Linked DNA regions of Homo sapiens: region 1 is linked to region 2. Evidence: promoter capture Hi-C in 16 types of primary human blood cells and fetal thymus (Javierre and others, 2016). All regions are on one chromosome and are shown on one strand. Each heading gives the region's core, a stretch centred on a gene start or on the middle of the fragment in contact. The rest is flanking DNA. Distances are from core to core; before and after follow the strand shown.

Region 1 (5,856 bases), core at 2,371-4,870, 200 kb after region 2:
AACAAATTTTGCCTTTGATACTTCCAGGCTCTGCACATTCTTTTTCCTTTGGTAAGAAACAGGTGTTATTAGCCAGGCACGGTGGCTCATGCCTGTAATCCCAGCACTTTGGGAGGCTGAGGCGGGCAGATCACTTGGGGTTAGGAGTTCAAGACCAGCCTGGCCAACATGATGAAACCCCATCTGTACTAAAAATACAAAAATTAGCCAGGTGTGGTGGCGGGTGCTTGTAATCCCAGCTACCGGGGAGGCTGAGGCGGAGAAGCACTTGAACCTGGGAGACGGAGGTTGCAGTGAGCTGAGATCGTGCCACTGAACTCCAGCCTGGGCGATAGAGCGAGACTCAGTCTCAAAAAAAAAAAAAAAAAAAAAGAAATATATTATTAGTAAGAAGTAGCTAAATGGCCTTCTAGAATTCCTAGGGACTGAAAGCATTCTCCACAGTTCAGTAACAGATATTTACCTTTAAACACCAAAGTGTTTTTTAAAATTCAGAACCATTTCAGGTGGAAATCTCCTGTCTGATGTGATGCCCTTGGGGCTATTGATGCATGTGATTATTTGCCTCTGCATTAAATAGCTACTGGTTCTGAAATGGTTTTGGGGCCTTTTCTCACTCTGGATTTCATTGCATGCATCAGGCCACGTGCACATGTCTGACTCAAAAAGTACCACTCATTCCCTCATCAACATTTTCTCATTTATTTTCTCTAATCGAGCAACTTAAGGAAACCAGAGAACTAAAATTATGAAAAACACAAGCAAGTAAAAAGTAGGTAGTCTCTGAGAAATGGCCCAGGGGTTGTCCCACATAAACAGCACCAGCTTTTGTCTAGAGACTCTGACTCTGTCTTCTTCCAGTTCTTTCTGCTTCCTTTCTCTGTTCTCACTGGCTTTCCCAGGGGCAAAGTTGCCAGAGAGCTGAGTTCCAAGTAGGTGAAGTTATGATAATAAAAAGTACAAGCTCATACCAAAGAACAAAGTGACTACTATTTCCAGGTTGTTAAAGCATAGTCACTAATTTGCAATTGTCAGCTCAGGTGCTCATGCTCAATTCTGCTCCCAGGTGACTGTGCTGGACAATGGGGAACCCTCACTGAAGTCCACCTCCAGGGTGGTGGTAGGCATCTTGGACGTCAATGACAATCCACCTATATTCTCCCACAAGCTCTTCAATGTCCGCCTTCCAGAGAGGCTGAGCCCTGTGTCCCCTGGGCCTGTGTACAGGCTGGTGGCTTCAGACCTGGATGAGGGTCTTAATGGCAGAGTCACCTACAGTATCGAGGACAGCGATGAGGAGGCCTTCAGTATCGACCTGGTCACAGGTGTGGTTTCATCCAGCAGCACTTTTACAGCTGGAGAGTACAACATCCTAACGGTGAGCAGACAGAAGGAAGCCACGGAGGGAGGAGTGGCATGCTGGTTAGTGGCCTTCTTTGAGAATTCAGGAGGAGGGAGACAGCCCACCAGCATAAGGGAAATGGTACTCTCCTTCCTGGCCTTCTCCCAGAGAAACTGGGAGTCTCAGCTTCAGCCAAAGGATCAAATTCTGGGTCCTTCTCTTTGAAGGCAATAAGGTCTTTGCCTGGGAAATCCCCTCTATTCTTAGAGAGAAGGATTTAGTGAGAGTAACAGGGGCTTTGGAACCAATAAGCCTGGGTTCCAACCCTAGTACTGCCATTTTACACCTGTGTGATGTTGGACAAGTCGTTTAACCTTTATCATTTGTAAAATGGAGATAAGAACGTCTTTCTTGTGAGAAGCCAATATATCAGGTAGCTAGCGCATGGGTGCTTACATCAGTCAGCCTGAATTCAACCCCAGTCTCATTGCTAGCCAAGCATTTCATCTGGCAGGTGAATCGACCACACTGAGCCTTAGTTTATTCTTGTAAAAGACAGATGATAACAGGACCTCTTCCAAGGTTATTGTGAGGATTAAATCAGATATTGCGCACAAAGCTCTTAGAACAAGGCCTGATAATAGTGAGTGCTCAATAAATTCTAGCTTGTTAGGTTTATGGTAGTTGGGAAAAGCAAAGGGCATATGTATGTAAAGTTCAATTTAGGAAGTAGCACACAGTAAGTCTTCAGTTAACAGTGGCATTTATTATTTTTATACTAACCATGAGGTTCTTGAGCACAGGTTATACGTTTTGTTCACCACCGTGCCTGCAGCAACTGGCAGGGTGCCTGTTTACAGCAAGCCTTCAAGTATGCATCAGATGAATGAATGACTGGATGAGAGGCCTGCTTGGTCAGAATCACAGGACGCTCTGGTTCCTGTCCTGGCTGCTTGGGTCTTCCTGTCTCTTGGCCCCAAACCTCAGTTTTGGTGTTGGCCTCCTTTCAGATCAAGGCAACAGACAGTGGGCAGCCACCACTCTCAGCCAGTGTCCGGCTACACATTGAGTGGATCCCTTGGCCCCGGCCGTCCTCCATCCCTCTGGCCTTTGATGAGACCTACTACAGCTTTACGGTCATGGAGACGGACCCTGTGAACCACATGGTGGGGGTCATCAGCGTAGAGGGCAGACCCGGACTCTTCTGGTTCAACATCTCAGGTGAGGCAAGGCCTAGGGCCCAACAAGGGCCAACCCCTCCCATCCTTATACACCAGCTCTAGTTTTCCTGCTACAGTCCTTCTGACTCTTCTCAAGGTCGGGCTCCTCGGCAGCCCCTCTTTCAGCCCGGAGTGGGGACTGCCTCTTCCCTGGTTCTCTGGGAGCACAGGCAGTAAGAATGCCACGTCTGCCAAGCTTTCCTTTCACTCCAGCCACGATCTCTAACCCCAGCCAGAGTTGGCAGTGCCTCAGTTACCCCAAGGGCCTAGGAGACCTAAAATGGTTCAGGAAGACCCAGAGCAGAAATGCTTTGTGTTTCCTTTCCTACCTCAATGTGAAAATCATAGTTGACCGTGAGCCTGCCATAAGCTATACCCTGGGGCCATGCTCAATGTTTTGGCTCCAGGTTTCACCCTTGAGATCAGGGGAAAGTGCCCATTCTCATTCTACGAGGCACTTGGATCCGGGCTCTGATGGCCTTCTCTGAAATTCCTCTCTGTCTCTAAATCAAGGTTTTGTTTCAACATCTGGGGGTCACAGAACCCTTCAGGAATCTGACGAACGCTTAGGTCCTCTTCCCAGAAAGTTGTGTGCACAAACACACACAAATGTAAATCTGCATACAATTTAGAGGATGTATAGGCCCTTTGAAACCCATCCAGGGATTCCAGGTTAAAAATCTCTAGGAGTTTCAGCACCCACATGAACATGGAGTCCTGGTACAGTTTTCTGTCCTGGCTAAGAGTAGGATAGGATATATGCCCTTGACCCAAGCTCTTTGAACCTCCTGAACTTACTTCCAGTTCTGGCTTACGGCTGTTTTGTTTGACTTTTTTTCTTTAATACCAAATTAATGCATGTACCCTCTAAAACATTTCAAAAACACATATGGGCTGGGCACAGTGGCTCGCACCTGTAATCCCAGCTGCTTGAGAGGCTGAAGTAGGAGGATCACTTGAGGCCGAGTCCAAGGTTACAGTGAACTATGATTGCACCATACACTCCAGCCTGGGTGACAGAGTGAGAGCCTGTCTATAAATAAGTAAATAAGCACACACAAATGAATGCAGAGAAGAAAATAAAAATCACCTAAAGTTCCACCAATCAGAAGATAATCCACTGTTATAATGTTGATGTGTTTCCTTTTTGTCATTTTTCCTTTACACACACACACACACACACACACACACACACACACACCCTTAGGGTTATATTAAAGTATTGTTTTATAATATTTTTAAATGTAATATATCATGAACATATTTCCATGTCACTAAACATATTTCTATATACTAGACATTTAAAAATATGTTGTTACATTTGGATTCTTATAGTTTATTAATCAATTTGATTTATTAATAAAATTCAAATAAAAATAACTTGACAACAACTTGACAGAATAAATTACAGTTTTGGGACTCCCTGGGAGAATAAACTACAACCTGTCACTCAGATCTTGTACTGTGGAATTTACCACCGTGTCCTCTGAGCCTGACAACCAAAGCCTATCTTATGCTATGCTGCCTAAATCACTGAGGTTGTGTGTGCTTTCTCCCCACTCCCACTCTAGGTGGGGATAAGGACATGGACTTTGACATTGAGAAGACCACAGGCAGCATCGTCATTGCCAGGCCTCTTGATACCAGGAGAAGGTCGAACTATAACTTGACTGTTGAGGTGACAGATGGGTCCCGCACCATTGCCACACAGGTTAGAGGCCTCGGCTGGGGACCCCTGTATTGAGAGGAGATGGAAGGCCTTCTTGGTTGGGATGAGGCTACAGAGGTTTTCTGTGGATGTGGTGTTCCTCAAGGAACACTGAATTTAGAATCAAAGTTCTTGTCTAATACACTCTCTACTTCTGTGATCCTGGGAGAATTCTTTCTCCCACTCTGGATCTGTCTATAATTGGAAGCTTGTTTAAATGAGCAGTTTTAATTAAAGATAGAGTACAATGGGGCTACTATGGGTATAGGGGGATGATGGTTGGGTAAGTGGGGCTCTGAATTTCTATTCTAGCTTCAGCCAGTGTTTTATCTGTTTCTTACATTTGGATTTCACACAACATTTCACTTGATGGAAAGGCCCTTCCAGAAAATTTTTGTTTTTGAAAAACACTAGACTGTGCAGCATCTGAAGGTCTTTTGATTTTGAAATACTGTCATTCATTCAACAAATATTTATCAAGTGATTGCTGAGTGCCAGGCACTGTGCTAGGCCTGGGTGATACAGGGAGGTCCAGACAGACCCAGTCCCTGTTCCCCTGGGGCTTGCAGTGCACCTTCTCCCTCATCTCCCTCCCTAGGTCCACATCTTCATGATTGCCAACATTAACCACCATCGGCCCCAGTTTCTGGAAACTCGTTATGAAGTCAGAGTTCCCCAGGACACCGTGCCAGGGGTAGAGCTCCTGCGAGTCCAGGCCATAGATCAAGACAAGGGCAAAAGCCTCATCTATACCATACATGGCAGCCAAGACCCAGGAAGTGCCAGCCTCTTCCAGCTGGACCCAAGCAGTGGTGTCCTGGTAACGGTGGGAAAATTGGACCTCGGCTCGGGGCCCTCCCAGCACACACTGACAGTCATGGTGAGTAAATGGAAAAATCTGGTGAGAATACGTTTGCATGTAGATGTGTAGGGGTGGACATGCTTGGAGACATGCTGAAGGTCCCCCTTCCCCTCATAAGGACCATGCACGAGACAGAGTTGTGACATTTCACAGCTGGCTAAGGGCACCTTCCATAAGGGATGCCTGGAAGTGAAGGTAGAGATGGGACGGCTGCCAAGGAAACTCCTGTCAACCTCAGCTTTCTCTGGACTCACCCCAGATATTTCCCAAGAGCTCTCTCCCTGCTCAGTGACTTCATGACACAATGTGGATTCATGTAATGTCAGAGCTGGAAGGGACACAGAGCCTCTCCCACTGAGAGCAAGGACTAGGGTCAGGCCAGCAAGGCATGCAGGACACAAAATGTAAGGAGGGCTCACTCTCTGGGCCATGTGCCTGCATTTTTATGACCCCAAGAGTCAGAGCCTCTTTAAATTTTGCACCCTACTTGCCTCACTTGCTTCCCCCTAGTTCTATCCCTGACCCTGCCCATTTGTCTCATCTTACACCTGAGACCCACAGAGAAAGACAGACTTCCTCACTGTCATACAGTTATTTATGATGGAACCAGAATCGGAGCCTGGCCTCCTGTCTTAAAGATCAGGGTTCTTATGTGCTAATTTATCATCCTCTGGGCATATAATACGTATTCAAGGCTCTGAGAAGTCCTGCAACAAAGAAAACT
Region 2 (5,117 bases), core at 2,137-4,636:
AAGGAAGGAGAGAGAAAGAAAAGAAAGAAAGAAAGAAGAGAAGAGAAGAGAAAACTATAGGCAGGCAGCTTTCAATCCCATTTTAACAAGATCTCAGTGGTTAAGCATTGAGGTTTTAGAGGCTGACTATGTTCAATTCAGGCCCTACTCAGCCGAATCACCGTGAGTGTGTGAACTAACCCCTAAATCTCAGTTTCCTCATCTGTCAAGAAGGGATAATAATAGGCCAGGTGCGGCGGGTAATGCCTGTAATCCCAGCACTTTGGGAGGCTAAGGCAGGCAGATCACAAAGTCAGGACTTTGAGACCAGCCTGGCCAACATGGTGAAACCCCGTCTCTACTAAATATACAAAAAAATTAGCCGGGCATGGTGGCGGACGCCTGTAGTCCCAGCTACTCGGGAGTCTGAGGCAGGAGAATCGCTTGAACCCAGGAGGCGGAGGTTGCAGTGAGCTGAGATCGTGCCACTGCACTGCAGCCTGGGTGACACTGTGAGACTCAGTCTCAAAAAAAAAAAAAAAAAAAAAGAATCATCCCACTTACTGACTTTAAAAACCTACTTTAAACCTACTGGCTTTTAAAATCTACCCATTTTATAAGTCTTTATAAAAGACCCCAGAGGCCATGAGGAACCAGAACTACCCAGTTATGCATCTGGTGGTAGAGCCAATCTTGAGATTCTCCTATAAAGAAGTGATTACTCTGTCCATGAAATAGATTTTCCATCACCCTCAAATTTATTTTTGCCCCTCAGAGGTGGAGGAGGAGAGCACTGAACTGTAATGTTTATACCCAGAAGCTGGTTTCTGGCTTCTGACCTTTATACTGTGGGGGATGGGACCTACTCCCTGTAGTCAGCGACAGAAAGTTTCAGGTATCTGTTGACTTTAGGTCCTTGGGCAGCAAAAAACTGTGCTCCCTAAAAATGTGTTTCTAGTTTCAGAGCTTCTGCTGAGAGTCAGGGTTATGAGGGCTGGCGGTGTACTTTGCTTTTCCAGAACCAGCAAGATTTCCCTGGAGCGAAGAAAGCCTAGGTTCATATTCCATACTCAGTAGTTATTTGCCACATGACTGCAAGCTACCTAGTGAACTCTTGGGAACTTCACTTTCCTCCTGAGTGAAATAAGATAAATAGCTCTCTTTCCAGGCTCAGTGAGGACTAACTTAGATACTGTACAAAGATAATTTGACATGTAATAGACAATCAGTAGATTTAGCTCTTATGTTGATCTTGCAAACCCTTCAAAGCTTTGGCTCAGTATATAAGTACAAACCATAGATGAATTGATTTTCTGCTGGTTATCCTAGAGCAAGACTCAGCAAACTTTTTTTTTTACACGGCACCGATAGTAAACATTTTAGTCTTCACAAACCATAGGGTCTCTGGTACAACTACTCAACTCTGCCATTCTAGTGCAAAAGTAAACAAATGAGTTTGGCTGTAGTTTTTTGTTTTTGTGTTTCTTTTTTTTTTTTTTTTTTTTTGGACGGTGTCTCGCTCTCTTGCCAGGCTGGAGTGCAATGGCATGGTCTTGGCTCACTGCAACCTCCGCCTCCTGGGTCAAGCGATTCTCCTGCCTCAGCCTCTTGAGTAGCTGGGACTACAGGCGCATGCCACCACTACCAGCTAATTTTTGTATTTTTAGTAGAGATGGGGTTTCACCATGTTGGCCAGAATGGTCTCGATCTCTTGACCTCGTGATCCTCCCGCCTCAGCCTCCCAAAAATGCTGGGATTACAGGCATGAGCCACCACACCTGGCCCGATTTGGGCTATGTTTTAACAAAACTCTTTGTAAAACAGGTAGTTTGTAGTGTGCCAATCCATGTTCCAGAGCATCATCATTTTTTTTTCCAAAACAATTTTTTTCTTTTAAATTAAATGGAGCCATGATCTCACTGTATTGCCCAGGCTAGTCTCAAACTCCTGGGTTTAAGTGATTTTCCTGCCTCAGCCTCCTAAGTAGCTGGGATTACAGGCACCTGCCACCATGCCTGGCTAATTTTTTTTCTATTTTTAGTAGAGAAACAGGTTTTGCCATGTTGGCCAGACTGGTCTCAAACTTGTGACCTCAGGTGATCTACCTGCCTCAGCCTCCCAAAGTGTTGAGATTATAGGCATGAGCCACATTGCCCAGCCTAAAAAAACTTTTTAATAGAGGAGAGCATCATCTCAGACTGTAATGTGGGGAGGAATGACTTGGGTGTCTTGTTAAAATGAGGATTCTGATTCCGGACTTCTGGGAAGGGACCTGAGATTCTGCATTTCTGACAGGCTCTCAGGTGATGCTCATATTGTTGGGCTGAGGACCACATTTTAAAGACAAGATTTTGTAATACTTACTACAAATCCTTCTTTCCAGAATCTGTTATTGTTGCTGTCTGTGAATAGTCAGGAAACAAGATGAAAAAATCAGAGATGTTTAGAAGAAAGGAAAGACTGACCATTTTCTTTAAGACAGATTTTGCAGATTTGGCCTTAATAAAAGGAGTGGTTTACTAGTCACAAAGGTCAAACAGTCTGCACTGGAAAATCGAGCTGCTTAATTCTTGGTCTTCGTTTCCTCTGTAGAGCACAGTGACAATCCAGACTCAGCGGTGTTTAGAGACTTGGAAAGAGTTTGAGAAGCCACTTAGCCACTTTATTTTCAGGTTTGTAGTTTTGCCTCCCGTTCTCTCCCCAGTAGGTTAAAAATGGGGAGTGGCAGGGCCCGCTCCACATCCACAGAGTCAGTTGAGGCAGGTGTCTGGGAGCTGCACTTTCCACAAGGTCCCCAGATTCTTCCTATGCACACTAAAGTTGAAAAAAATTGAGTTAGCTAATACCCTTTTGGTATAGATTAGGGAACTGGAGCCCTTCTGGAGCAGAGATTTTGCCTGTGGTTTTCTAGCAAGATATATCACTACACCCAGGATTCCAACTGAGGTAATAGACTTCAAATATTTTGAAGTGCTCCATGAAAAATGTAGCCATTGATTTTTGAAGGGAAACAGGAGAGACAAATGGAAGAAATTAATAATCCAATAGCTAACCTTTTACCCAACGGAACCTAGTACTAGGCTCTAATTTCCTTAATGTGTTAGTTATCTATTGCTCCTTAGTAATTATCCCAAAACTTTGTAGTATAAAACAACAAATATATTTATAGTAACTCACACAGTTTCTGAGAGTCAGGAATTTGGGAACAGCTTGGCCTAGTGGCTCCAGCTCAGAGGCTCTCATAAAGCTGCAGTGAGATGTTGGCTGGAGCTGCATTCATCTGAAGGCTTGACTGGAGCTGGAGAATCCACTTCCAACATGTCTCACTCACATGCTTGTTAGCTCGAGGGTTCAATCTCTCACTTTGTGGACCTCTCCTTGTGGTTGCTGGAATTTCTTTGTAATTTAGTAGCTGACTTCCTCTAGTGCAAGTGACCCCAGAAATGGAGCAAGACAGAAGTCACAGTGTCCTTTATGACATTGTGATAGCTTCAGAAGCCACATAACCTCACTTCAAGCCATATTCTATAAGACACACAGACCAACCCGAGACATGTGGAATGGGATTACTCAAGGGCATAAATACCAGAGGCAGAGATCATTGAGGCCATCTTGGATGCTGGCTAACCGTACTTAAAATCCTGTGTTCATCCCATTCACAAATCTAGAGAGGGACTCTTACCCTCAATTTTCAGATGTGGAAACTAAGGCACAGAGAAGTAACATATTGATGATCATGCAACTAGTAGTGCCAGAGCTGGTATCTGAAGCCATATTTATCTGATTTCAGATGGTCTCATTTCCAGAGATTTTAAAATAAAGTATTGGTATAAGTAATCCTTGTGTGAAAGCAAAGCAAAAGATCCAGAAGTTCAAACCAGCCATGTCAATTATCCATTGACTCAAAAATAAGTTTTAAGCACCTACTCTGTCCAGGCACTGTTCCAAGTATTAGGAATCCAGTAGTGAACTGAACAAAACCTCTGTCTTCTGGGAGCTTACCTTCAGACCCTTGATCTGTTAGATATCCTAGAGACTGTAGAATGTAGAGCTTACATGAAGACTAGGAGCCGGGGATCCCTTCCTGCCTGGCCTCCAACCCACTGGGGAACCCAGGCAATCCTTTCTTTCCCTGGACCCAGATGCTGCCTCTGAGAATGCGGCCCTTGGATGAAAGCAGAATCACCTGGGGTAATGAGTAGACATAACAGATTCCCCAGCCCAGACCTGCTGACCAGAACCTGTAGTTTTTGCAAGCTGTAGGTGACTCTAGTGCAGAAAATAATTTTGTGGTTCATAAGTGGGCCCACCAGATCAGCATTGCTCAGAGTATGGGGGCCCATCCCTGTCAGAGTTACTGGTGGCCCTGAGACAAAGCTCATAGCTCAAGAATCAGTGTTTTGAAGGTAGGACTGGGAAAAAGCATTTTAAACTAGATCTCCAGGTGATTCTATTTACTATGTGCCAGACACTGCTAAAGGATTTATAGGGATGATTCCATTGAATACAACTTGTGAGGTAGAAACTCTTAGCTACTCTATAGTTGAAGAGACGGGCTCAGAAACAGGCTTCTGATGAGTCTGATGCCAACCAGGTCCTGCCCAGTCTCTCTGTCTTCTGTCTTGACCCTGAGTGGGCCTGTCTGCTGGCACTGTGTGGGGGTCACTCTACAGGGCTCGGGTCATGGTCCCCCTGTGTTTGTTTCAGAAGCACGAGTTCTCTGTGGACATGACCTGTGGAGGCTGTGCTGAAGCTGTCTCTCGGGTCCTCAATAAGCTTGGAGGTGAGTGAGTGGCCCTGAGTTGGGTGCACTTATGCCATGTTCAGATGCATGCAGATGTTGCAGGAGAGACTTAGGGTTAAGCTGATCATAACAGTAAAACTAAAATATATTGAGTACTTAGCACGTGCCAACTACTCTTGTTATTTTCTTAGTGGCTTATGTGAATCACATCATTTAATCCTCACCACGGCCATTTCAGATAGTTTTTTTTTTACTAGCTCCATGTTAAACAGGAGACAGCTGAAGTTCAGAAACATTAAATAACTTATCTGGGATCACATGGTCAGTAAATGGCAGAGCTGGGATTTAGCCAAATTAACTAGTACTGCCAGGAGTAGCTCTGGAGCCATGGCAG

What was found. The method cuts DNA at HindIII sites, captures the fragments that hold promoters and counts their contacts. A CHiCAGO score of 5 or more calls a contact.
Region 1: a fragment that was not itself captured here is called in contact with the fragment with the promoter of ATOX1-AS1 in region 2 in 1 of 17 cell types (monocytes); the score reaches 6.1 in monocytes.

What each region holds. Positions count from the first base shown.
Region 1 is chr5:151,549,884-151,555,739 of GRCh38, reverse strand. FAT2 (FAT atypical cadherin 2) reads left to right here. Exons shown (of 24, transcript NM_001447.3): 5 at 1,067-1,378; 6 at 2,353-2,563; 7 at 4,134-4,273; 8 at 4,869-5,150. It also overlaps a transcript of SLC36A1 not described here. Among named protein-coding and RNA genes, the nearest start is that of MIR6499, 31 kb to the right of the region's middle. The HindIII fragment of the contact is 1,720 bases long and covers 2,761-4,480 here.
Region 2 is chr5:151,751,349-151,756,465 of GRCh38, reverse strand. ATOX1-AS1 (ATOX1 antisense RNA 1) reads right to left here and starts at 3,386. Exons shown (of 4, transcript XR_007059008.1): 1 at 3,157-3,386; 2 at 2,344-2,793. It overlaps ATOX1 (antioxidant 1 copper chaperone), which reads left to right. Exons shown (of 4, transcript NM_004045.4): 2 at 4,687-4,762. The HindIII fragment of the contact is 3,507 bases long and covers 1,251-4,757 here.